6 separate regions of the Homo sapiens genome follow, and all the other regions are linked to region 4. The links are contacts of gene promoters, found by promoter capture Hi-C in blood cells and fetal thymus (Javierre and others, 2016). All regions are on one chromosome and are shown on one strand. The core of a region is centred on a gene start or on the middle of the fragment in contact, and the rest is flanking DNA. Distances in the headings are between cores, read along the strand shown. Region 1 overlaps SKP1 (S-phase kinase associated protein 1). Region 2 overlaps VDAC1 (voltage dependent anion channel 1). Region 3 holds the start of C5orf15 (chromosome 5 open reading frame 15). Region 4 holds the start of DDX46 (DEAD-box helicase 46). Region 5 overlaps SKP1 (S-phase kinase associated protein 1). Region 6 overlaps PPP2CA (protein phosphatase 2 catalytic subunit alpha).

Region 1 (4,782 bases), core at 1,286-3,785, 600 kb before region 4:
TTAAAACTACTCTTCTTGTTTTCATTATGCCCTGTACCTGCATTTCACAAGGACTTTTCACTTCTGTTACTTATACTGAAATTCATGGAGTAGTGCTGCTAAATACAAGTTAAATCCTGCTGTCAAGTGACTTCCAATGAAGTTCTGGAACTAATATAAAGCAGACTGCACTAGATCTATAAAACCGTAGTACCTATTTCCAACTTGCCCAAGGCCATGAAGACACTAAAACTCCAGCCTCAAGGTATGACTTAATGCCACAATATTAGTTTAGAAGAATAGTTGGGAAGTAAGAGAGTAGCCAGAAATGAGTGGAGTTTTGAAGACTGAGGTTTGGCTACTGTGATAATGAGAAAGGACCACTCACTCCAGGTGAAAGCCTAGAAAAGTTCTAGTAGATATATTAAAGGAATAGTGGGCATACAGCAGGGAACAGGAAAAAGAAAGGTAGGAAAATAATACTGCAACCAGACTGAAAAGGGCTTCTTAATACCATGTCTATGATTTATTTGGGTCCACAATGGTGAAAAATGGCTTATTTTCTCTTGGATCTCTATTAATGTAAAAGTTTAAGATTACTAGGATTTTTTGTTGTTTGTTTAGGGACTACAGAAAGTCAGGAAACAAAAATTTAAATTACTACTATATTGTCTGTCCATCCAATCTTTCTGAAAGATCTCATTATCCTTTAAATACGGATAGTGACGTTATTTACTCATATAATTCTAACTACTGCTGAGTATTATACAGATCAAGTGGTAATAACAAGCTCCAGTTTCTTAGAAGGTGATACTTCCTTTACAAGTTAAACATGGCATATGGCAGTAATCCTGGACCTTCAGTGAAGATTTGTTTGTCATAATACTGCTAAGGATACTTCTGGTTTGTTTTTGAGACAAGGTCTCGCTCTATTGCCTAGACTGGAGTGCAGTGGTGCAATGCCAGCTCACTGCAGCCTCGACCTCTCAGGCTCAAGCCATCTTCCCACCTCAGCCTCTCAAGTAGTTGGGATTATAGGCATGCACCATATGACTGCTAATTTTTTTTTTTTTTTTTGGAGAGACAGGGACTTTCTGTGTTGCCCAGGCTGGTCTTGAACTCCTGGGCTCAAACGATCCTCCTGTCTTGTCCTCCCAAAATGTTGAGATTACAGGCATAAGCCACCATGCCCAGCTGCTAAGGATACTTGAGGTGGATAAGGTTTTTGCAGAAGTTGATCTTATAATAGCAGGAATTGGTAGATGAGACAATTCAGCTAGGACTATACACCGCTACCTTCCCCACTAAAACCAGGACAAACAGAAAACAAGCTTATCTCCTGAGAGAGAGAGAGAGAGAGAGAGAGAATTTTAAATAACTCTTTACAACGTAAAAACCATTTTTAGCTCAAAGACTACAAAAACAGGCTATGGGCCTGATTTGACCCACACATTATAGTTTCCTATCTCTGGTACAGACAACAAATTGGAATTAAGTGAGACAACATATGGGACTTTATTAAATAAGGTGAATTTGGGACAAATGAAAGGTGAGATGAAGGCAAACTACTGTCAAGGGATGATCTGAGCCTGAACAACTCAGTGAATGTGAAGAGAAAACAAGATTACATGTGAATATAGATGTTAACTGGAAAAGCAAGGAGAAAAAAAGGGAGCACAAGGAAGAAAAAAAAATCAAAATTTGTGAGCCATCTCAAGCCATCAAAAAAACTTCATTCTATTGTAGGAGGGAAGCTGGAAACAATGGCAGAGTAATTTTGTGTTAAGAATTAAAGTACTAGCTCCAGTTAGGCATATAAATGACAATTAGAAGGGACAGAAGTTATGGTTATGTCAGCAGCCTCCAGTGAGCTAGGATATAAACTAAGTCTTTTCAAGCTGAACAAATATATACACATTCAACCCATTTAAGTGAAGAGACACATTTAAGTCCACAAAAGCAAACTTAACTACCTACTATATAACTTACTTTTTATTGAAAGTATCTTGCATTCATGATGGATGCTTTCTGGGTTTTACCACATATTTTAATGTTAAAAGTTAAATTATTCTTTACATGCAAGTAGTGTGAATAATTTTCTCCACATGGGAACACTAATTATAAAAAGATGACATCCCACATGGGTTAAGTGTCTTTTTAATTGAAAAGCTAACTGTCCAGTTACATTTCTCCCAAAAAACCACAAACTGGGTAGTAACTGAGTCTCTAGGCAATATATTTAAAACTAAGAGGATTAAAAATAAAGAAAAAGAAAACAAGTCCTCAGATGCAATGAAGGGAGCCCTGCTACATACAGGCTAATCAATACAGTGGTACTCCTTGACTGCAGGAGGCTGGAAGACATCCTAGTAGCTCCACTCAGAACATTTACTTCAAGAAGCCTTTTTCCAGTTTCCAACTCATGAATAAAGATAATATTTTGTTAATTCTATTCCAGAAAACTTTTTTGCAAGTTGTTTTATTTACAATGCCAACTTTTAAAAGGTCACTAAAGTTAACTGGACAATAAACTAGGCAGACATTGCTTTACAAAAAAGAGGGAAAGCCCAAAATGCCACTTATAGAGAACCCACAGTTCAGTTTTATTCAGAGCAAAGAAAAAAGAAACTTTCCATCATACTAGAAGAAACTTGGCCGTAAGGTTTGGGATCTGTGCTCAAACTACACATGCAATGAGGACAATATTCTGCTAATACAATTGACTTGCTGCTGCATTTGTCTACTGTTTGTCTAATATTAACAATTATAAACAGAGCAGTGCAACTAGTATTTGGAACAATCCTTACAGTGTTACAGTGTCAGGCACAACATTTCACTTCTCTTCACACCACTGGTTCTCTTTGCGTACCTAAAAGAGATGGATATAGGGAAGTACCTTAACTTGAGTAGTCTTTCCTAAGACTTATAAATACTACCTACTGATTCATCGATAGCCAGTGAGTTGAGTCAGAAGAACAGATGGAAAATTAGAACAACACCAGGTTAAGACTATATTTCCGGATTTCCTTTCTTTGCCTCCCATGGTTTTTATTCTGCCCTGCTGAAATTATGAACAAAGCAAAGGCAATGGGCAATTTACTAAAGTTGACAGAGCAAATTCAGTTAATTCATTCACATTATTTCAGTCTGTAGTCATGTCAACAAAATCATTCTGATCTATTCTTTCATTTCCTCCCCTCATTAAGTTGCTCTAAAGTACCCTAGTATATACTTCTCTCTAGGGCCTGCTTTTCTGATGTCAGATATGTATGGTCTATACAGAAAGTTGCAGGTGCCAAAACTAGTAACTGTTAATACATTAACAAGAGCTCTTCTCATTGAAAACTAATTGTTCTTATGCTTAAAATGCAGTATCATCTAAGTGTTCAGATTCATAAAGACAGAACAGTAAGAGTATGTTTAAGACACATTAAGTACATATTATCCCTAAAGTATCAAGACTACTTGATACAGTCACCTCTTTTGCTGGCATGTTATAGGTGTTACTCCCTTTTTAAGAGCATGTGATCAAAGACAAAACTGTGTGCTACCTACCTGGGCTTCCTCCTCTTCAGTAAAGTCATTTTTGATATTGAAGGTCTTGCGAATCTCCTCAGGAGTTTTCCCCTTGATCATATTGGCAACAGTCTTGCATGTAACATCAAGCAAACCTTTGATGTCTAAGTAGTTTGCAGCCTGTAAAGAGACAGTTGTTTTCCTTAAAGTATACTTGATGTTTTAAACTAAATCCAAAGTTAATGATTGACACTCCGTATCTAATAAAGCTTAAAATGCTAATTTTAAGAAATTAAAGGGAGAAGAATAAATCACTCCTAAGTTCTTCTGTGAAAGACTTTTATGTGACCTTCTTTGTTATACCTCTATAATGTTGAATCCTTCTGCTTCCTTAACCAAACTATACTAGCTCAAATGTGAAATAACGGCCACTACTGTTGTGTATGTGTGTACACATGCACACAAATACCACATCAGGTCTTGGCAAAAATATTTGTCCACACTTAAAGAGTTCAAACGTAAGCAGTTATAGCACTATATTGATCTCATTTTAAAAAACAGGTTTTGGTTTCATTGACTTTATTGTTTACCTGTTTTCTATTTCATTGATTTCTGCCCTTTAATATTCTCATTCTTCTGTTTACTTTGTAGTTAATTTCATCTTTTACTAGTTTAAGGTGGAAGCTTAGATCACCGATTTGAAACTTTTCTTCTTTTCTAATAATATAGGTATTTCATTCCATCAATTTCCCTCTAAGTACTTCTTTAGCTGCATCTCACCGATTTTTCATGTGTTTTACTTCCACTCAGCTCAAAATACTTTCTATTTCTTCTCTGACCCATAGGTTACTTGCAAATGTGTTAGTTTAAAAGTAGTTGCAGATTTTTCCAGATACCTTTCTGTTTGTGATTTCTAATTCCATTGCAGTCAGAAGACATACTTTGTATGACCTGAATCCTTTTACAATGGAGACTTTTTTTTTAAGACACCGTCTCACTCTGTCACCCAGGCTGGAATTCAGTGGCGTGATCTCGGCTCACTGCAATCTCTACCTCCTAGGTTCAGCCAATTCTCTTGCTTCAGTCTCCCAAGTAGCTGGGATTACAGGTGGGTGCCATCTCACCCAGCTAATTTTTTTTTTTTTTTTTTGAGACGAAGTCTCGCTCTGTCACCCAGGCTGGAGGGCAGTGGTGCGATATCGGCTCACTGCAAGCTCCACCTCCCGGGTTCATGCCATTCTCCTGCCTCGGCCTCCCGAGTAGCTGAGACTACAGGTTCCTGCCACC
Region 2 (4,405 bases), core at 110-2,609, 770 kb before region 4:
TTTAACCATGTTGCCTAGGCTGGTCTCCAACTCCTGGGCTCAAGCAATCTGCCTGCCTTAGCCTCCCAAAATGCTGGGATTACAGGTGTGAGCCACCTCGCCTGGCCAGGTATTTCTTTAGAGCAATGCAAGGACAAGACTATAGGCGCTCACCACAATGACCAGCGTGTGTGTGTGTGTGTGTGTGTGTGTGTGTGTGTGTGTGTGTGTGTGTGTAGATGGGGTTTCACCATGTTACCTAGGCTGGTCTCCAACTCCTGGGCTCAAGCAATCTGCCTGCCTCAGCCTCCAAAAATGCTAGGATTACAGGCGTGAGCCACCTTGCCTGGCAAGAATAGCCTAATACAGCCATGACGACCAAGGAATGCATCATAGACAATCCCATAAAAGAAACAATGCCAGCCGGGCACAGTGCCTCACACCTGTAATTCCAACACTTTTAGAGGCCAAGGCAGGTAGATCACTTGAGCTTAGGAGTTCAAGACCAGCCTGGCCAACATGGCAAAATTCCATCTCTACTAAAAATACAAAAATTAGCTGGGTGTGGTGGTGCACACCTGTAGTCCCAGACACTCAGGAGGCTGAGGCAGAAGAATCGCTGGAACCCGGGAGGCAGAGGTTGCAATGAGCCAAGATCACGCCTCTGCAGTCCAGCCCGGGTGACAGAGTGAGACTGTCTCAAAAAAATAAATAAATAAAAATTTAAAAAGTAAAGATGCTTATCTAACCTCCCTTTGGTCACAAGTTTTGCAAGAGTTTTCTGCAAGATGGTCTAAGACATGCACATGTCTTTACTCTAAAAGCTTGCTATATAAAGAATACTTTCTGGAGGATGAATGCAGGGATCCACTGTCTCTTGGCTGCTTGAGACATCGCTTCTATTTGTAAGTCTCTATTAAATGTTTCTTTCTGAGAAACTGGATTTGTCAGTCTCTTTCTTTGGCTGCTCAGCTCCCTCAGCAGTTGGGAGTAGGTGTGCACAGACCTGCTCACCAACAGAACAAGTGACAATGAAACTTATGCCTTGGAACCTCAATTTTGTTCAAGTTACTTCTGTACATTTTGGCAAGGTTTGAAGGAAAGGAGTAACAACCAAATTATCTCTCAATAAGAAAAATCCAAAACTGGTCAGGCGTAGTGGCTCACACCTGTAATCCCAGCACTCCAAGGAGGGCAGATCACTTGAGGTCAGGAGTTGGAGACCAGCCTGGCCAACACGGAAAAACCCTGTCTCTACTAAAAATACAAAAATTAGCAGGACGTGGTGGCATGTGCCTGTAATCCCAGCTATTCAGGAGGCTGAGGCACGAGAATTGCTTGAACCTGGGAGGTGGAGGTTGCAGTGAGCTGAAATCACATCACTGCACTCCAGCCTGAGCGACAGAGCAAGATGTCTCAAGAAAAAAGAAAAAGAAACCTATCTTCATCTGCCTGCTCTTTGGGGAAAGAAGTCTGGGTTTCAGCCAAGTATGTGATTGGCACCAGGCTGGTTGAGATGACTGATGATTAGACAGCTGTTGAGAGGCTGACATTTACAAAGGGAAAAGGAAATATAAAATCAGGCATCTTCTAACCATCTCCTTTTTCAATTTTTAATAAAAAGCTGCTGATGATCACAAACTATGATGCCTATGGCAGGGCCTCTGACCAGTGGTGTGCACCACCTGCACCAGTTGACATGGCACCCCCACCCACTGTCTCACTGGATTCTGGCCAGGGCCCACAATCCCCAAGAGAAAGGGCAGTGCTGGGGAGTGGCTCAGGCTTCTCTCCAGGTCTCTTTCTAACACTGCACACCATGTCTGTGGAGTCTTCCTCTTTCAGATATTATTGGGATTTATTTTTAAGCTATTTCAACAGTAGTGCTAATTTGACAAGCACCCGAGAGAGGCCTGACTGATTTGTGGTTAACAAGCAAGCTTTATTTGTGATGGATACTCAGCGTGGGTGCTGGTCCTTATTGAGGTCTGTGGCCTCATCCAGATGTGGTCTACACTCCGCTCCTCCTGGGAGCCAGGTGTTTTCCCAGGCTGTACCCTCAGTCACTTTGGAAAGCCAGCTTTCGTTTCTAATCTCCATGATGCACCACCAGAACTTTCCTCAAATACCCAGTAGCATTATGTACATCTAGCACCCAGAATTTTAGTTTTGTTTTTTTTTTGAGATGGAGTCTTGCTCTGTCGCCCACATTGGAGTGCAGTGGTACCATCTCGGCTCGCTGCAACCTCCACCTCCTGGGTTCAAGCAATTCTCCTGCCTCAGCCTCCTGAGTAGCTGGGATTACAGGTGTGCGCCACCACACCCAGCTAATTTTTGTATTTTTAGTAAAGACAGGGTTTTGCCAGGCTGGTCTCAAACACCTGACCTCGTGATCCACCTGCCTCAGCATTCCAAAGTGCTGGGATTGCAGGCATGAGCCCCCGCGCCAGGCCTACAATCTTAGTTTCTAAATATCATTCTCCAACATAAAGAACCAAGGCTCCTTGGAGAAATGGCAGATAGCAGGACTGGGGAAAAACAAGTACTAGATGAGCGTGGTACACTTTCTAAAACCAGAAATAAAGACATGCTCTGAAAAACGACAGAGGTTTGTCAAAAAGCACACAGAGTGTATTCTCCCAAAGCCCATATCTGGGACAACTTGAGCGACAAAATAAATGACACTGTGCATTATAGCCCATAGAGTAAATGTCCATGCATCTATACTAATATAAATAAATAATTGATTAAATAAATACATGGGGAAGAAGGAATAGCTCTTCCTTACGGTAGAATACCAATTAACAAGTGAAGGAAGGATGGCAATAGAAAATTACCATTTGAGGCCAGGTGTGGTGGCTCACACCTGTAATCCCAGAATTTTGGGAGGCCAAGGTGGGAGGCAGATCACTTGAGTCAGGAGTTTGAGACCAGACTGAGCAACATGGTGAAACACTGTCTCTACCAAAAATATAAAAATCAACCAGGGGTGGCAGCAGGCACCTGTAGTCCCAGCTACTGGGGAGGCCGAGGAGGGAGGATCCCTTGAGCCAGGGAGGCAGAGGTTGCAATGAGCCGAGATCATACCACTGCACTCCAGCCTAGGTGACAGAGTGAGACCCCATCTCATAAAAACAAAAAAGAAAAGAAAATCACCATTTGTAGCCAGGCGTGGTGGCTCACACCTGTAATCCCAACAATTTGGGAGGCTGAGACGGGTGGATCGCTTGAGCTGAGAAGTTCTAGACCAGCCTGGCCAACCTGGTGAAACCTCATCTCTACTAAAAATACAAAAATTAGCTGGGCTTGGTGGCACACGCCTGTGGTCCCAGCTACTTGGGAGGCTGAGGAAGGAGGATTGCTGGATCCCAGGAGGCAGAGGTTGCAGTGAGCCAGGATCACACCACTGCACTCCAGTCACCATTTGCCAAGCGTAACTGTTGCAGGCAAGAATCACCAATGGATGTTACTATTTTTGAGCAAAAGTATGATGAGAAATAGAATATCTGCATAATCTCAAAGTGTCTACCCACAAGATACTTACTAATTACAAAGAGAAAAATAGTAGCTTTACAATGAAGAGAGTTGGCAGACACCACTTCAAAACTGATCACCAAAAATGAGGCCTACTGATATATTCTTCCTAACATCAGGTGCAGAGAAGAATATAACACAACAACTACAGTTGCCAAAAATGCATAACCTAAATTTAATCATAAGGAAGCATCAGACAAATCCAAACTGAGGGACATCTTAACAAAATAATTGGCCACTCTTTTTCAAAAGTGTCAGAGTCAGAAAATATTCCAGATTAGAGAAGACTTAACAATTAGATGCAATTTAGGAACCTGAACTGGATCACAGATCAGAAAAAAGACGTCATTGTGACAACAGATTAATTAACTATATGATATCAACATTAACTTGCTGATTCTGATCATTATAGTTACGTAAACCATTAACATTAGGAGCTGGGTGAAGAACACAGGAGAACTCTGCATACTATTTTTGCCACATTTTTTTCTAAGTATAAAATTATTTTGAAATAAAAAGTAAATTAAAAAAAAAAGGGGGGCAGGTGCAGTGGCTCACGCCTGTAAACCCGGCACTTTGGGAGGCTGAGGTGGGCAGATCACCCAAGGTCAGGAGTTCAAGACCAGCCTGACCAACATGGAGAGACCCTGTCTCTATTAAAAATACAAAATTAGCTGGGTGTGGTGGTGCATTCCTGTAATCCCGGCTACTCGGGAGGCTGAGGCAGGAGAAACACATGAATCTGCCCAGCACTTTGGGAGGCCGAGGCAGGTGGATCACGAGGTCAGAAGTTCAAGACCAGCCTGGCCAATACGGTGAAACCCCCGTCTCCACTAAAAATACAAAAATTAGCCAGGCATGGTGGCCCGTGTCTGTAGTCCCAGCTACTTGG
Region 3 (4,101 bases), core at 125-2,624, 790 kb before region 4:
AACTTTATAAATTTAATTCTCCCCTTCTACTGGTCCCTTTTTAAAAACTGCCCTAAAATAAAACTATATCAGCATTTCTTAAACTTAAGAATGCAGAGGACCCCGAGAACTCATTCACACACTGGTTTGAGAAACAATGCCTTAAAAATGAAATGCATTATACATTAAGTTTAGGTGATCATTTGGGGACAATATAATGGCAAATGTAGAGAACCAGGCATTTTTGAAATGGCATGACCAAGAATTAGTCACCCAGTGATCCAAACTGCTTATGTTAATTTTTTAGACTTGATCAAAACAAAAACATAAAACAAAAATTCTTACAGACTGACGAGCATATAACCAAGCATTGACAGTTTTTAAAACCTAATATGGAACAAATTTAAATAAATCTAATGTGGTAACCTTCTACCTTTGTAAACTCACTTGAAATTTGGAACTCAACACATTCTAGACTAATTTTCTTATTACAGGAGTGACTACTTTGAAATTATAAGGTATGCTTACAAAAAATACTTATATCCCAAGCTACACTGTAGTGCAGTGGAGCTGCTCGCCTATTAAAGACATGTATGTTCGTTTTCATTTAGCTTCTTTTCAGGACAGAATAATCTGAATTTATGACATTTTAAACTGGTGTATGTAAAGACTTAATTTAAAAGATAAAGATTCTCTAAAATGTCTCAGTATAGTTAGAAAAATATTTATAGGGCTCTAACAAATAAAAGCAGAGACTAAAGGACACTTAACAGTCCACATTCTGCCTCACTTCTTGCCCAATTTTCAACCATCTCTTAGGGGAAAAAAGCTGTTTCTGAAACTACAGTTGCCAGATATATATCCCTTAAGCATTCCAGCAGGAAATATAAATGTTTGTGTTTTATTTTTCTTAGATGATTAAATGGCCAAAACAATTAAGCTACTTAAGTACTTTAGGAACGGGAATATCTGCATCAACCAGGGAAATCCTCATTACATTTCACTAATGATAAAAGGGCCTTAGGAAATGGACAGCAGTCCTTCCTCAGGGACTGCAAAGACTTCTGGGAGGGCGTCCAGTTAGCAACACTGAAATGTTGCTGAGGAAACATAAGTATGTACCCACAGTACTGTCGCAGAGGAATGTAGGGCTGGACAGGCCCTGCTGGCAAGAAAGAAAACACTATACCAGGTCACACTGTTTTGCAGCTGAAAATTCAAATTTAGGGAGAAACGCAGGACTGTGTCTTGGCCTGAAAGAAAAATGGGACTACTAAACAAAATACCGTTTAATCCTTACAAGTTCTTAATAGTGGATTTTTCCCACCAAGTATCAGGCACTGGTTTACAGATTTCCTAATTTCTCAATAAAAGCCTTCAATCTCTTGATTTCACCATGCAACATTTGCAAGAAATGAAATATTTTATCAATCAAATCCTACAGATGCATTAAAACGAGGCAGGGTTATCCTGGTTAACTCGGAACACAGGGAAGAGGAATCATGATCTCCCTTGTCTCCAAACTCCTCTCTGCCTCCCAAGCCTTCAGGGGCCCAACGCCCCAGTACTCTGAATCTTTATCAAACACCAGAACCTCCCAGTCTTCAAATATGCACCAGTACCCTAAGACAGCTCTTTCCCTTTCACTTTCCCTCTCGGAAATATTCCATTGGTTCAGTCCAGTCACTGGATTACTGCCCCTGCCCGCCTCGGTCTTTACCACTGACCTCTCCCATTCTGGAAAACCCCCACCTTTCCTTGGTCCTGCAAGATTCCTGAGTCCCCCAAACTCAGGACCCTTTCCAGACACCACACCCCCAGCCCCGGCCACCTCCTCAGCCCCTGTCGCCACCCTCTCTTCCAGAGTCTCCTAACTTTCCGATCCAAGAAATTTTGGAGACCCCACCACCGCCATTCCTTGCGGCAGCCCATTCTTCAACGATCTCTAGGCGCTAACACCACTCCTCCCTCCCCGCCCATCTACACACCCTGCTGCCTGCTCCCTGGGTTCCTGCATCTCTCAGGGACCCCGCTTCTCAGGCCCCTTGGAGACCCTACCACCTTGGACCCCTTCAGACACCATACCCTCCGTCCTCAGGCCCGCGGAGACCCTGACCCAACCAGACACCGCCGTCTGCTCCTGACACTTGGAAGCGCCCTTTCCCTGGCCCGGCCTGTCTCCTGCCCTGCGCCCGAGCCCTCCTAGCCTTCCTAAGCCCACACTGCCGCCCCCCTTTACCACTGGATAGAGCGGCGGACACAAGCAGGAGCGCCAAGACCAGCGGCCGCGCCAACCCCACAAGGGCTTGGATGGCCGACCCGGGCAGCAGTTTCGCTTGTGCTGGCCCCCTCATCCTCTTCGGGACGGCAGCGGCCATAACGGACTCGGCTGGGAGCCTGCGCTGTTGCTAGGCTCTACGCCATGAGGTCAGACGCCGCGGCCCTCGGCACATACGTCCCAGCGTGGTGACGTCGAAGCCTGGAGACGTGCTCTGGAAACCGGAATAAGAAGGAAGGATTGCAGGGAGGAGGGAGTTGCCGCTAGGCGAAAGTGGGGACCGCCACACAGTTGGCTGCGGATTAAAGGTAGGGTGTGACGTGCTGAAGAGGGCCAAAGCGAGCCCCTCCCTGCCGCCTGCATGATTGGGTACTATACAGCCAAAAATAGCGTTTTTAGCCATTTTAAAAAGGAAGATCCAGCTGTAGAACAGACTGATCACGAAAGCGAAGTAACTGCTCTTCCTCTCTCAAAGGCGAAAGAAACACAAATGTTAAGTAGTCCTATTTCGGTGATGGGATTATAAGTAATTTTTAAAAATCTTTCCCGACAGTCATTTATTTTTTTTCAACAAAGATTTAGCACCTCTCCCTATTTAAGATACAGCAGTGAACAAAAAGAACCCCCCACCCCCCCGCCCGCCTTGGCAGTTTATTTTCTTGTGAGGGCGAATATGGTGTAAAATACACACTATACAAGATGATAAAGATATTATGGACCGGCCCTAGTGCAGTGGCTCCCAGCACTTTGGGAGGCCGAGGAGGGCAGATCACCTGAGGTCCGGAGTTGGAGACCAGCCTGGCCAACATGGAGAAACCCCGACTCTACTAAAAATACAAAAATTAGCCAGGCGTGGTGGCGCGTGCCTGTAATCGCAGCTACTCGGGAGGCTGAGGTAGGAGAATCGCTGTAACCCGGGAGGTGGAGGCTGCAGGGAGCCGAGATGCCACTGCACTCTAGCCTGGGCCACAGACTCCGTCTCAAAAAAAAAAAAAAAATTATGGAGGAAAAGAAAGGAAGGTAGCTAGGAAGTAGAGGTGAGGGGCTGCCATTGAAAATAACTTTCAGATTTCCTAAAATAAGCTTCTCTTTTTAAATTTTGTTACTTGAAATCCCCAGTGTATAAAAATGCAAACTTACAAACTTCCAAGAAGTTCACCTAGGGCCCTGGCGCCATACTTTGCTCTGTGTGTACGTTCTGTAAATGTCTCCTTAATAAACAGATACAGGCTTCAATTCATAAAAGTTCCATTTGATCAATTTCAGGAAAATCAATGTGACGTTAAGCAAGACATTTATTGTGCCCACAGCTTCACCATTCTGGTCTCTATGATTCCCTGCGAAGATTGCTGTTATCCCCCAGAGACACAGCTGAGCTGTCTCTCTAAAGGGCCTGTGTTCTACTCCTGAATCTGGTTTCCCCTAAGCTTTTATCTCACCCTGGTGACAGCTCAGAAACACACAAACTCTGTGTTAAGAAAACTAAGAAGTCATTCATCTGCACATTTCCCGAAATCCCCCAGAAGCCCGTATTAGACTGAATGGTGTCCTTATTGCAAACTCTCCACTTTAGCCAAGGTGCAAAGTCCTCCCAGTCCCCCAGGAGCTTCCCTTCTCTGAGCGGTACTTAAGTTTTCTGTAAAACCACTCAGTTCAACAAATGAGCTTCTCAATCTTAGTTTCTGCTTGTTGACTTTAAAGTTAATCTATAATAAACACACTGCAGTCCTCTTCCCTGACTCATTGTCCACTTTGTCCATTTGTGTCCTCATACCAGATTGTCTCAATTCTCTTAACTGGTGAGATATTATGAACTCAAAGCATTTTGCACAATGATATTCCAA
Region 4 (4,727 bases), core at 624-3,123:
AGCCACGGGGGGCGTGGGGAGCATAAACTCATCTTGGAGTGTCACTCGTTGGTTTGCTTTTTTTCTTTAATCAACTATGTTGAGGTAAAATTTACATACAATAAGTCATGTACAGTTAAAGGGTACAGTTCAGTGAATTTTGAAAAATGTGCAAATCTATTCAATGACCACTAAAATCAAGACACAGAACTTTTCCATCATCTTTAGGTGTAAGAAAGTAAAATAGTACAGAGGCAAGTAAAGTAAAAATATGAGCCTTTCTCCAACTCCATTATAGCTTTTTGCAAAAACAACTCAACATGGCCGGGCACGGTGGCTCATGCCTGTAATCCCAGCACTTTGGGAGGCCGAGGCGGGCAGGTCTCCTGAGGTCGAGAGTTCAAGACCAGCCTGACCAACATGGAGAAACCCCATCTCTACTAAAAATACAAAATAAGCTGGGGTGGTGGTGCATGCCTGTAATCCCAGCTACTTGGGAGGCTGAGGCAGGAGAATCGCTTGAACCCAGGAGGTGGAGGTTGTGGTGAGCTGAGCTCTCACCATTGCACTCCAGCCTGGGCAACAAAAGCGAAACTCCGTCTCAAAAAAAAAAAACAAAAAAAATTCAACATTTCTGTGTGTGTTGCATGAGACAATACATATACATTTTTTTGGTGCCCAAACTCTCGAATAATGTTCTCAATCTTGACTGTACTTCAGAATTACCTGGGAAGCTTAAAAATTCCCAGTGCACAAGAAGCACTCCAGGCCAATTAAATCAGAACATAGGGGTGGAACCCAGGCTTCTATTTTATTTACTAATATTTTAGAGATGAGATTTCTCTGTGCTACCCAGGCTGGAGTCATCATAGCTCACTGCAGCCTCAAACTCCTGGGCTCAAGTAATCTTCTTGCCTCAGCCTCCCTGGCTCAAATGATCCTCTCACCTCAGCCTCCCAAGTAGCTAGAACCACAGGCGTGCCAGCACACCTGGCTAATTATTTTGCTTATTTTTTGTAGAGGGTCTCGCTATGTTGCCCAGGTAGGTCTTGAATTCCTGGGCTCAAGCCATCCTCCTGCCTCGGCCTCCCAAAGTGCTGGGATTATAGGCATGAGCCACCATGGCTGGCCCTTTTTTTGTTTTTTTGTTTTATTTTTAAGCTTCCCAGTGCAAGCAATGTTGAGAACTAATCTTTTGCCAAAGTATTTTTAGCTCTTTGTTCTCTACTAGGTTAACACCTACCGGGTCTTCAAATCTCACCTCAGAGTTCACTTCCAAGGGAAACGTGTTTTCTGAATCCGTCTCCAATGGTGGACTCTCCTTGCTGTATTACTTCTGCTTGTGTTTTTAGTCAAGTCTATTATTATTACTATTTTCTTTGCAGAGACGAGGGCTACGTTGCCCAGGTCTTGAATTCCTGGGCTCAATAGATCCTCCCGCCTCAGCCTCCCAAAGTGCTGGGATTTCAGGCGTGAGCCACTGTGCTGGCTTTAGTCATCTGTTTCCCGGATAGACTGTGAGCTCCCCAGGATCTAGCACAAGCCTGGCATATGACAACATAAATAAATGAGTGAATGTATACATGAATAAAGAGCGTGTACGGAGAAAGTTGCCGCATTATTTAGCGCAAATTAAGGCAGACATCAGCCTGCCCAGGACGCCTCTTTGGCTCTGGCGCGAAACACCCTCACGGGCCGGCGAGGCTGACGCGCTGCGCTCCATCGCACTAATCAGCCGGGCGTGGTGCGGGCGCCGGGAAGACTGGGCGGGGCGAAGGCATCACCTTTCGATGGGGCCGGCGCTGTGCGTCCTCCAGTCGAGGTGGGGCGCTGTGGAAGAGCGGCAGCTTCCGGTCGGCTTTTCTCTTCCTTCGGCTGCCGGCGCCAGCACGTCCTGTTTTCGTTGGCCGCGCTGGGATGGCCGCCACAGCTGTAGGTGCTGCTAGTGTTTAGCGCTGGTCTTTGCCGGGCGTTGAGGGCAGCTCAGCCTCCTTGTTTGTCCGGTTCGCCTGTGCGTGGTACTCAAGGGCACCAGTATTCCCGCGGTCGGCAGCATGGGTCGGGAGTCACGGTGAGGCAGAGCGCCGAGCGGGCTAGCGGGCGAGCGGCTTCTTGGGGTCGTGAGAAGAGGCGGGAGTTGAGGTGGCCGCCGGGCCAGGCCTGGCGCGGCCCCACGTGCGGTCAGCGCTGCCCCGCGAGCATTGGAAGGGCTGGGGGACCTCGGCTGAGGGAATGGTTGTGTTTGGGCCAGCGACGGCTTCCCCTGCACTACCATCAGAGGGTTCGAGCCCCTGGAGCGGGAACAACCCTCCAGGACGTTAGTGATTGGGCACCACATCCCGCCACTTCAAGGGAGCCTGCCCTGATTACTTCAGTCAGAAGTGATCCCAGTTGGATTGCTTATTGCTTCGCGTTTCCAACATTTCCTCGACTCCTGTCATTCTGTATTTTAGTTCTTTGTGCGCGTATGATCTTTTCCCAAGTTACTTGAAAGGAGCGTGTGGGCAGACATTTTTACCGCATCGACAGCACTATACACGACTAGGCTTTTACTGGGCTACAATAAATACTTGTTGCGTGGGCATTTACTTCGCAAATAGATTTCGTATTTAAGCAGGTAACTTTGTTACCTGCTTTTCTGTCCTTTTGAAGTTGTGGACTATGAGCTCTTATTAGAACTCATTAGATCTCATCACAACTTTAGATTGTTGATAGATTGTTAGGAACCTTGAGATTTTTATGTTAAAAATGACTATTTGCTATGTATTTAGCAATGACTGAAAGATATTTTATGTCTAGGAACAATGAAGGCTTTTGTTGTTAGTGCTAACAGTTCTTTGTTGAGGTACAATTAACAATCAGGGAAATGGACAAAACGTAAGGGTAAAGCTTGATGAAATTTAGCAAATATATAAACCGTGTAATCATCACCTGGATGAAGATAAAAAATATTTCTTTAACTACAGAAAATTCCTGTGACGGTGTTTTAAATCTCCGGAAGGCTGTCCAGACCAGAAATCTGAAAGTGATATTTATTTGACTCATTCTTCTCTCTCACTACCCACAGCCTGTTAGATTCTACATCCTTTGCCCATTCTGGTTGTCCCTGACTTAATTGAGGCCCTAATTATTTATTGTCCAGACTACTACATCTGTTTTAAATTGATTCTCTGAATTGATTGTCTTCCTCTGTTGCTCTCCTAATTGTTAGATCCCTTACACTACAGCCAGAGTGACACTTCTGAAGTAGAGATAAGATGATGGCATGCCCCTGACTTAGTCTCCATTGGTTTCTACTGCTTCCAAGATGAAATTTAAACTCTATGACAGCCTTCAAGGCCCTTCACAAGAAGGTCCATTCTAGCCCGTCAGCCTTCTCCTTTACCTCTCTGGTGTGCATGGCCTGTGCTCTAGGTTTGTTCAGGGAATCATGAAAGGCTTAGAGGTGGGAAGGCGCAAGGTGTTAGAGAAATAGCTAAAAAGCCCAATTTTTCTGCATATGTAGGTTTCATGAAGGGATTTTATCTTTTTTGAGAAGTAGTAGGAGGTAGGTCCTGAATAGGACTTGGGCCCAGAAAGCGGGTGGATTGTAGATTTTGAAGATCAGAATTTGTTTGTGAACCTTTGAAGATTTTGAGTAAAAAGTGTGTAATAGAATCAGAATTCTCCTTAGCAGCAATGAGTAAGATTTAATGGAAAAGTAATAGAAACAGGAAGACTACAGTCTTTAAGAATCTCCTAGGTAGATATGTCTGATATAGAATAGTGACGGTTGGAACTCTGTGGAGGTGATATAATGTGAAGGGAATTACAGAGGTGAAATTGGTATTACTTGGTTGTTTTTTTGTTTTTGTTTTTGTTTTTGAGACAGAGTCTCGCTCTTTCGCCAGGCTGGAGTGCAGTGGTGGGATCTCGGCTCACTGCAAGCTCCGCCTCCAGGGTTCACGCCATTCTCCTGCCTCAGCCTCCCGAGTAGCTGGAACTACAGGCGCCTGCCACCGCGTCAGGCTAATTTTTGTATTTTTTAGTAGAGACGGGGTTTCACCGTGTTAGCCAGGGTGGTCTCGATCTCCTGACCTTGTGATCCACCCGCCTCGGCCTCCCAAAGTTCTGGGATTACAGGCGTGAGCCACCGCACCCGGCCTGTTTTTTTGTTTTTGAGACAGGGACTTGCTCTGTCTCCCAGGCTGGAGTGCATTGAAACAATCTTGGCTCACTGCAACCTATGCTTCCCAGGTTCAAGAGATCCTCCCACCTCAGCCTCCCGAATAGCTGGGACTGCAAGCGTGTGCCACCACGCTTTGCTAATTTTTGTATTTTTTGTAGAGACAGGGTTTCACCATGTTGCCCAGGCTGGTCTCAACTCCTGAGGTCAAGCTCTCTGCCCACCTTGGCCTGCCAAAATGCTGGGATTACAGGCATGAGCCGCTGTGCCCAGCCAATTGGTGTTTTATTTATTGTATCGAATGAGAGCAAGAGAAAAATATTGATGATGACTAATGTTTTGAGCCTAGTGACCGGAAGTTGGTACGATTAATCGTTTGGGGAGGGAAGGGTAACAAGTTTGGGTTTCTACAGATTGAACTTGAGGTGCTTGAGAGATAATCAGGTGCATTCATCTCCTAGTGATCTTATTTAGGTTTATAGCTTTAAATAGCCTTTGTACACTAATAGCTGTCCAGTTTATATTTCTAGAGAAACCTCTTCCTTGAACTACAGGCTAATATTTCAACTATATACTATATATC
Region 5 (4,199 bases), core at 1,018-3,517, 580 kb before region 4:
CGCAACTTTATTAATGCACTAATTACACCATGTGACAAGTTTGCCTTGTTTGTGTCTGACTTCCCTCCTAGTTTATAAATTCTTCAAGGGCAAAGGCCATGTCTCACTTACCTTCTTTTCACCAGCACCAAAGCTTGGCACATAACCCTTCTCTTCGTTCAAGTATTTATAATCTACTGATCTTTCCCTACATAAAAAACCTCTGACATTTAAGTACTAAAGAACACTCAATACTACTAAGTTTTTTTCATCAATTCCAGACACTGATTTGTATCACCCCACTGGTAACACTAAAAAGAGATCCACATTAACTAGCGAAAGTTTCAAGACCTGTTTTCTAAGTCACTTCCTTATGCTGCATATATACTTTGTAGTAGTTTCAGAGGAATGACAAAACAGACAAAAGAGAAAGCTTGTTTAAAAAAAAAAAAAAAAATTCTGCCTGGCAGAGTGGCTCATGCCTGTAATGTGGCTCTTCCCAGTACTTTGGGGTGCCGAGGTGGGAGGATGGCTTGAGTCCAAGAGTGCGAGAACAACCAGGGTAACATAGGGAGATCCTGTCTCTATAAAAACATTTAGGCTGGGCGTGGTGTCTCATGCCTGTAATCCCAGCACTTTGGGAGCCTCAGGCGGGTGGATCGCAAGGTCAGAAGATCGAGACCAGCCTGACAAACATGGTAAAACTCCATCTCTACTAAAAAATACAAAAATTAGCCAGGCATGGTGGCATGCACCTGTAATCCCAGCTACTCGGGAGGCTAAGGCAGGAGAATCACTTGAACCCGGGGGGCAGAGGTTGCAGTGAGCTGAGATCATGCCACTTGCACACCAGCCTGGGCAACAGAGCAAGACTCCGTCTCAAAAAAAAAAAAAAAAAGAAAATTAAAAAATCAGCTGGGGCAGGGCGCGGTGGCTCACACCTGTGATCCCAGCACTTTGGGAGGTCGAGGTGGGCGGATCACCTGAGGTCGGGAGTCCGAGACCAGCCTGACCAACATGGAGAAACCCCGTCTCTAACAAAAATACAAAATTAGCCGGGCTTGGTGGCACATGCCTCTAATTCCAGCTACTCGGGAGGCTGAGGCAGGAGAATCGCTTGAACCAGGGAGACGGAGGTTACAGTGAGCCAAGACTGCACCATCGCACTTCAGGTTGGGCAACAAGAGCAAAAAAATCCGTCTCAAAAAAATCAGCTGGATGTGGTGGCACGTGCCTGTAGTCCCAGTTATTCGGAAGGCTGAGGTGGGAAGACTGACTGAGCCCAGAAGGTTGAGGCTGCAGTGAGCCGTGACTGCATCACTGCACTCCAGCCTGGACAAGAGTGAGACTCTGTCTCAAATAAATCAATCAATAAATAAAATCTACACAGCAATCCACAGAGCTCACTCCCTCCACTGAAATAAGGTGTTCTATTCAGCCACCATTATAGGACGGTATCTCTTTTCCAAAGACCTTAATTTCTATCACTGGAACTTATGAATTCAAATTTACTTGAACAGAAATTAACCATTGCCTAAGGCTTGGCAATCACTTCAATGTTTATTTTACCTTATGATTTTATCCATTTAATGAGAGAACGACCCTCACTAATTCAGACAATGCAGAAAGGATGACCTGTATCAGAAAAATGTAAGTTATAAAGAAAAAAATGTAAACTTTACCTCTTCATACTCTCAAGCACCTTATGACAGGCTGCTGCTCATATAAATTTGATATTCACAAACTATCTCAAATTACACATTTCCTCCCACCCAGGTTTTCCAATGAACTTACCTTCCAACATGGTCTTAATAGTCACAGATTGTTTGGCAATTTCCACATCAACTTCAAATATCTCTCCATCAGAACTCTGCAACTTAATTGAAGGCATCTAAAAAAAAAGGACATTAAATATAAAATTTAAGAGAGAGAGTTCTACATGACATTTCATCAACTACAGTCCATCAGAAGGCTCTAACTTATTGACCACAAAGTTCTAAGAACCTACAATACATAACCCTGTAAAGCACTGTTGTAAGCAGTTATTCACAAGTTAGTCTCCGAGTATTTCTATTAAAATTTTTTCAAAGTATAACTACTAGGAACAGAAGCTTTTAAGGCCTGCCCTACTGAACTCACTATTGGTATAAATTTAATAAAACATACATATTTGTATTTGCTTTCTGCCTGCCTTTCGTCTCCCACTGAATACTGGACTCCATCTGAACAGTTAACTGCCACAATTAACTACATGCGAACCTGAGGAAGGTCAGTCCAAAACAAACAACGCTACTAAATAAGATAGAAATTTTCCCCACAGTGAGTCCTACCTGTGAAGATGAGTTCAGATCCAAAGAGTACATCAGAATATGCTCATTTATGTCTGAGGCAATGCAAGACCATATACAAGAGAATAAAATGATTTAAAGATAAGCAGATGTGAGTACAATTCCCTAAATCTACTTAAAAGCTTCATTTCAGAGCCCTTTTTATCTTTCAGTACTGACTGTCCAGGTGACCAACTTTGAGATCTCTTGGCAAGATCTCCATAATAATAACCTATTACTTGCTCTGAAAACGCATTTATTAATTCAGATTAATTATGAGTCGTTAGGAAAAAGATATAATCTTACATAAAAAGTTAAGCATTTAATTTCAAAGGACTTGAGTTCTGGCAAAAAAAAAAAAAAAGGCATTTAAAATTAAAAGTCCAACAATTTCTTACCATCTTCAAATTCTTTTTTTAAAAAAGAAAACATACAAACAAGGAAAACAACAACAACAAAAAGAATAGCAATACCTGGTACAGATTAATTCAAGGCCTCTTAAAACTCACATACAACTTTTAAAAGGCCCATGCTTCTCAAGTATTCATAATCCGGTGATGTCACTATTAACTTATGGCACCTCTGAAGTTTTCTAGGTGTGTTGTATTACAAATCGCATATATTTTCCCAAAAGTGTATCATTTGGCATTTAAAACATGCATCACACCCATTTTATGTTCAAAGACTTATGACCCATTACATCGGTTAAAATATTCATTCAGCTTCTCTGAGACAATTGTCGCCAACCCCAAAGCAAACAGGTTGTTAGGCAAAGGAAGCAAAAAAGTAAAGCATGTTTTAAAACCAGCCACTGAAATATCCTACTCTCACTCATCCATAGTTGGAGAGAATCAGATTTCACTTTGCGATTCACAAACATGTCTGCTTCTCCATGTTGCTTAGCGCTTGCCAATAATGCAGTTGTCCCTGCTTAATGGAGAAGGATGCAGAGTAGAGGACCCTTCCTGTGACAAGACCACAACAAAAGGTATCTCCAAAAGAAAATATTTTAACCTGAGCCCAATTTTTAATTATAAAACATTTAAACATGTAATTTTTATATTAGATAGTACTGAAATGAACAGTGCAGAATCACAAATCTAACAATGCAGTTGATTAAAATTACTCTAAAAGCAAGACGACCGTTTCATATTTCTTTCAAATAACTCAAGATAAGTGCTTAGTCATAGTCAAGTTTGTGGATTGGGTTACTCTTAAGGGAGTTGAGACCTTACTAAATAGCAGCTGGTCAATCGGTTAATCTGTAATTCGATGCACTTGGTAATACTAAACTCAAAGATAAGTTTTAGTGTTACAGTAGAATAAAGTGCAAAATTTTTAAGTAATAATGGATGAAATATTTATTTGAAATGCTTTCAAAACAATTCCATTCTAAAGAAAGAGGCCTAAAGGCTCCTGCACTTGTAAATAATTCTCCATGGCCAGCATAAAGCGGGTTCTATCACATCATATAGAAAAAAAAACCCCTGCGCTTTAAGTGACCCGAAATTCTGACACTGCTTTTTAGACTGCACAGTGGAGGAGACGGTATTGTTCTATGAAACGGATACATTCTACTGTCACGCTCTAAAGGAAAAATGCATGTCCCTAAAACCCAAACGTGAAGTTTCCATTAAAAGTGAATCAAAGCAGGTAGACGTCCTATTTCTTTAAAAGCCAGATACCTAGAGTTAAGTTATACACAGTTAAGGCTCCTACAAGTCACACCACTCTGACGATGGTATCTGCTCAACGACTCCAAGTCATGGCAAAACAACGCTAAGAAATATTCAGATGGAGCAGGCGGCTATGTGCAGAAAGCCGGCGCCCGCACACGGTTAGCCAGGACCGACCGGTAGCTAGTGACGCCAGACACGGTGGAGAAAGGATGGG
Region 6 (4,589 bases), core at 1,801-4,300, 570 kb before region 4:
GGTTCAGCTGAACCTCACCTAACTCCCCTTCAAACTCTGGCTCAAATAAATGCCCTTGAGACACAAAGGTTAGTCCATGAACTCTTTTTTTTTTTTTTTTTTTTGAGACGAGTCTCACTGTGTCACCCAGGCTGGAGTGCAGTGGTGCGATCTCAGCTCACTGCAACCTCCACCTCCCGGGTTCAAGCAATTCTCTGCCTCAGCCTCCCGAGTGGCTGGGATTACAGGTGCCCGCCACCACACCTGGCTAATTTTTTTTTTTTTTAATTTTTAGTAGAGGTGGGGTTTCACCATCTTGGCCAGGCTGGTCTTGAACTCCTGACCTTGTGATCCACCCGCCTCAGCCTCCCAAAGTGCTGGGATTACAGGCGTGAGCCACTGTGCCCGGCAGTCCATGAACTCTTGAGAATGCTGTAACCAGGCTACCTGACTTGGGCCAACACTCAAAAGGCCCAGCATGCAAGCCTTCCTCACCACACACTCCCCAAAGGGCCCATCACACACCTAGCTTCCTGAATGGGGCTAAGCGACACATCTAAACCCTAAAGCTGTGTAGGCTATTGCCCACCCTTCAAACACCACTAATAAGAATTTCAGCAAAGGCAAGAGAAACCTAATGCTTCCTGAAAATCAGGAACTCTGCGATCAGAATGCCTGAATAGCAGAACCTTCTCTGCTCTTCTCAACAGAGTTGAGAAAACTCAATAATTCATGTAACATGCTTGGCACATGGAAATGCTCAGTGCTAGACAATATTCACTATAAGCTAATTCTGTCATTTCAAAGATTGAACATTCAGTAGCTACTACTGTCCTAAGTCATTGTGAATTCAACTCAACCCTTCACAGCAATTATTTCAGCACTGAGTGCACTGGAAACCCAAGCTGGTTCAGGATATGTCAGCTATTGCCTTTTCAAGACTGCAACGTCAAATTGATGTATTTCAGAAGCCATGAATCACTTACTCTATACTCTTTTAACATACCAAATGCTGTAGGCCATCTGCCACTCAGGTAGATAGCAGAAATGTCCAACTGCTGCCAAAAGGTGGTTTAAGCAAATACATTTTGAAAATCCAAAAGATGTCTACTCATATTCCCAGCCCTACTTTAAAAATCCTGGCTTCTCATTTCTAGAGTATGGTTATTTTTCCTAGGATCTGTGGTGAAACTAGAAAAACCCAAAGACCAACAAAGCTATCACAATACCCTAAAGAAATCCAGAGCCAAGACTAAAATTAAGGGCAAAACCTGGTGCGGTGGCAACAGGCCAAGAGGCCATACCAGGTCGGACATCACCTGGATCCTTCCAGAGGCCATGAGAGCCATACTGCCATCCCAAAAATCTTGACTCATATTTAAATTGCCTACATCCCTTTACCCTACAACCAGTTTCAGTGCAGCTCTGAGGAGGAGCAGTGGGCTAAGCCTTGGGTTTGTCTTTGCATCCTAATTTTAGTCATAGATCAATGAAAAGATGAAACTTAAAATGGTAGTTTTATACATTTCAACCAAGGTAGAGATGAATGTGGTTTTGGAAAACAAAGGATGTTCAAGACCAAATACATTATACAGTTTCTCCTCCCGCTCCTCTGCCTGCTGCATGCAATACATACTCAAGACCTTCACTGCAAAGGGACTTACATTGCAAGTTGGACTCAACAGCAGGAGTACATTCTGCAGATTTTACATCTGGTATATTTCACCACACCATGTAACCTACTTTCTGATATGTTTGGATATACCTGACCTTAAAGCTCCCCTTTGACCAGGCCTGCCAAACCCAATTACTAGCTCTTGCTCCTATCCCCAGGTTCCAATGCCATACTCAGAGCAGTTCTAGAACTGCAAAAAGCCTAATGATTAGTCTCCTTGCAGATCAGAAGGTATGCTAAGCCTTGAGGTAGAGGCACTCAACAGCTTTGGGCATTTCTAATAGCTTTAATTAGACATTCCATTGTGGTCTTCCATAGTGTTCTATGGAGCAAGCACTCTTAACTTCCTATCACGATTCTGGCCTTTGACTTCCACCATCAGTAATCTTGCTTGCTGGTGGCTACAGCCTACCACTGCACTAAGGAAGAACAGCTAAATTATTTCTTGGAAGAAAGCTTTTAAAAATATATTTTTTCGAGACAAGAGTCTCGCAGTCTGGAGTGCAATGGCGCGATCTCAGCTCACTGCAACCTCTGCTTCCCGGTTTCAAGCGATTTAGTCTCACCCTCCCAACTAGCTGGTACTACAGGTAAGTGCCATCACACCCAGCTAGTTGTTTTTTTAGTGGAGACAGGATTTCACCATGTTGGCCAGGCTCATCTTCAACTCCAGGCTCAAGTGATCCACCCACCTCGGACTCCCAAAGTGATAGGATTACAGGCGGGAGCCACTGTGCCCAGCAGGAAGAACACATTAAAGTCCTTCCCACTAACAACACTGAATGGTTGAGAAGATTGTACACCATGGCTGAGGCTATCTCAAAATAGATTCCGAAGGGACCCAAGTAGTAAAATAAGAGCAGTGGTTTGCAGCATTAGCAGCATCGTACGCAGAGTAGACAAAATCCTGGCTACTTCTCACAAGCCTGTTGAGGATACAAACTAGTCATCCCTCAGTAATCTTGGGAGACTGGATCCAGGACACCTCCCTTGGATAGTCAAGTCTGGAAGTCAGTCCCCTTTACCAGTGGGTTCTGCATTCAAGAATACTGCATTTTTTGGCCAGGCGCGGTGGCTCATGCCTGTAATCCCAGCACTTTGGGAGGCTGAGGCAGGTGGATCGCCTGAGGTTGGGAGTTTCATACCACCCTGGCCAACATGGTGAAACCGTCTCTACTAAAAATACAAAATTAACTGGGCGTAGTGAGCCACGCCTGTAATCCCAGCTACTTGGGAAGCTGAGGCAGGAGACTTGCTTGAACTCGGGAGGCACAGGTTGCAGTGAGCCAAGATCGTGCCACTGCACCCCAACCCGGGTGACAGAGAGAGACTCCGTCTCAGGGGGAAAAAAAAAAGAACACTGCATTTTCAATCCCAGGTTGGTTGACTCCATTGACTCATTTGATGCAAACTCTGTGGATACTGATGGCTGGCTATACTTTAAATTATGGATTACTCATAATACCTAAACAATGAAATTGCTATGTATATAGTTATACTGTGTTTTTTTTTTTTAGACAGAGTCTTGCTCTGTTGCCCAGGCTGAAGTGCAGTGGCTCTATCTTGGCTCACTGCAACCTCCACCTCCCAGATTCAAGTGATTCTCCTGCCTCAGCCTCCTGAGTAGCTGGGATTACAGGCACACGCCACCATGCCCAGCTAATTCTTATAGTTTTAGTAGAGACGGGGTTTCACCATGTTGGCCAGGCTGGTCTTGAACTCCTGACCTCCGGTGATCCCCCCACCCCTGCCTCCGCCTCCTAAAGTGCCGGGATTATGGGCATGAGCCACTGCTCCTGGCCACTGTATTGGTTTTTATTGGTTCCTTTTCCCAAAAATATTTTCAGTCCATGGTTGGCTGAATTCTCAGATGTGGAACCCTTGACTATGGAGGGCCGACTGCACTTAATTAAATTCAACCTCAGACATGAGGGTTTGTGCTTTTCCTTAAAAAACAAAAAAGTGTGACTTTTTCCAGCATTCACTCATTAGCTATAATTATTTCCTCTTTCACTCTTGGGAATGAGGAATTCTGGTCCAGGCATGACAGCAAATACAAAACAAACTGGGGTCTGTTGCCTATATCACTTACTTGGTTACCACTGATCTTTGTATGTTCAACTTTTAAACAATTCAAACACAGTCCACATTTTTCTTTCCTCAAATTTATATACCAGCTGATAAAAATACATTTCAATCTATTTACAGGACAGCACTGCCTACAAGCCAACAATGCTGTGTTAGCAACATCCCATTTTTTTCTAGACAGTAGTACTTGTGCAATTAAATATATATAATAAAAAGTAGAAATAAAATGTACTTATATTCCTAAAACATAAAGCTTTAAATGTAATTGGAAAAAATATAGAAATCACCAGGCATGCCCAAAATAATACATCTACAACCTTCATAAGGCTATTTGCTAAAACAGATGTATACTTGTGAAGGGAAAAAAATCTAAATTAAAAAAGTTTATGAAGACTAGAAATATGTCAAAACAATGTGTGAGGACGAAGGCTTTAATGCAAAATAGCTTTAGCTCACAGAACCAAAATCCATCTGAAAACAAACAAGCCTATTACCAAACTATAGGTTACTAAACTATAGGCCCATTTCTAAGAACACATTTATGGTTGGAAGCAAAGGAATATTTATACTAAACAGGTAAAAGTCACCACTGAAACAGAGAGTCGCACGGTACATTTTAATTCCTTATCAACATCCATGAACCACCACCATGTATCCCAATTTTCTTAAGTATGTACTTAGGAAACAGCAGTGAGGTGTTTTTGTTTTTTGAGATGGAGTTTTGCTCTTTTTGCCCAGGCTGGAGTGCAATGGCACGATCTGGGCTCACTGTAACCTCCTCCTCCTGAGTTCAAGTGATTCTCCTGCCTCAGCCTCCCAAGTAGCTGGGATTACAGGCTCCTGCCAC

What was found. The method cuts DNA at HindIII sites, captures the fragments that hold promoters and counts their contacts. A CHiCAGO score of 5 or more calls a contact.
Region 1: a fragment that was not itself captured here is called in contact with the fragment with the promoter of DDX46 in region 4 in 1 of 17 cell types (M2 macrophages); the score reaches 5.0 in M2 macrophages.
Region 2: a fragment that was not itself captured here is called in contact with the fragment with the promoter of DDX46 in region 4 in 2 of 17 cell types (activated CD4 T cells and total CD8 T cells); the score reaches 5.9 in activated CD4 T cells.
Region 3: a fragment that was not itself captured here is called in contact with the fragment with the promoter of DDX46 in region 4 in 2 of 17 cell types (non-activated CD4 T cells and total CD8 T cells); the score reaches 6.4 in non-activated CD4 T cells.
Region 5: a fragment that was not itself captured here is called in contact with the fragment with the promoter of DDX46 in region 4 in 5 of 17 cell types (total CD8 T cells, naive B cells, erythroblasts and 2 more); the score reaches 7.7 in total CD8 T cells.
Region 6: a fragment that was not itself captured here is called in contact with the fragment with the promoter of DDX46 in region 4 in 4 of 17 cell types (erythroblasts, total CD8 T cells, naive CD4 T cells and 1 more); the score reaches 6.3 in erythroblasts.

Annotation. Positions count from the first base shown.
Region 1 is chr5:134,154,921-134,159,702 of GRCh38, forward strand. SKP1 (S-phase kinase associated protein 1) reads right to left here. Exons shown (of 6, transcript NM_170679.3): 5 at 3,535-3,675; 6 at 1-2,848. The coding sequence ends at 2,813. Among named protein-coding and RNA genes, the nearest start is that of SKP1, 20 kb to the right of the region's middle. The HindIII fragment of the contact is 2,454 bases long and covers 1,309-3,762 here.
Region 2 is chr5:133,984,254-133,988,658 of GRCh38, forward strand. The region is part of intron 5 of VDAC1 (voltage dependent anion channel 1); the gene reads right to left. Among named protein-coding and RNA genes, the nearest start is that of C5orf15, 18 kb to the left of the region's middle. The HindIII fragment of the contact is 1,116 bases long and covers 802-1,917 here.
Region 3 is chr5:133,966,228-133,970,328 of GRCh38, forward strand. C5orf15 (chromosome 5 open reading frame 15) reads right to left here and starts at 2,398. Exons shown (of 3, transcript NM_020199.3): 1 at 2,219-2,398. The coding sequence starts at 2,357. LOC105379183 (a long non-coding RNA gene) reads left to right here and starts at 2,462. Exons shown (of 2, transcript NR_134247.1): 1 at 2,462-2,565; 2 at 3,524-3,996. RefSeq lists enhancers at 1,592-1,691, 2,322-2,541. The HindIII fragment of the contact is 3,928 bases long and covers 1-3,338 here.
Region 4 is chr5:134,756,906-134,761,632 of GRCh38, forward strand. It overlaps DDX46 (DEAD-box helicase 46), which reads left to right and starts at 1,874. Exons shown (of 23, transcript NM_001300860.2): 1 at 1,874-2,050. The coding sequence starts at 2,034. RefSeq lists an enhancer at 1,649-2,138. The HindIII fragment of the contact is 1,728 bases long and covers 1,139-2,866 here.
Region 5 is chr5:134,172,153-134,176,351 of GRCh38, forward strand. SKP1 (S-phase kinase associated protein 1) reads right to left here. Exons shown (of 6, transcript NM_170679.3): 2 at 1,774-1,870. The coding sequence starts at 1,870. Among named protein-coding and RNA genes, the nearest start is that of SKP1, 2.7 kb to the right of the region's middle. RefSeq lists an enhancer at 4,179-4,199. The HindIII fragment of the contact is 359 bases long and covers 2,089-2,447 here.
Region 6 is chr5:134,190,175-134,194,763 of GRCh38, forward strand. It overlaps PPP2CA (protein phosphatase 2 catalytic subunit alpha), which reads right to left. Exons shown (of 7, transcript NM_002715.4): 7 at 4,158-4,589. Among named protein-coding and RNA genes, the nearest start is that of SKP1, 16 kb to the left of the region's middle. The HindIII fragment of the contact is 1,885 bases long and covers 2,109-3,993 here.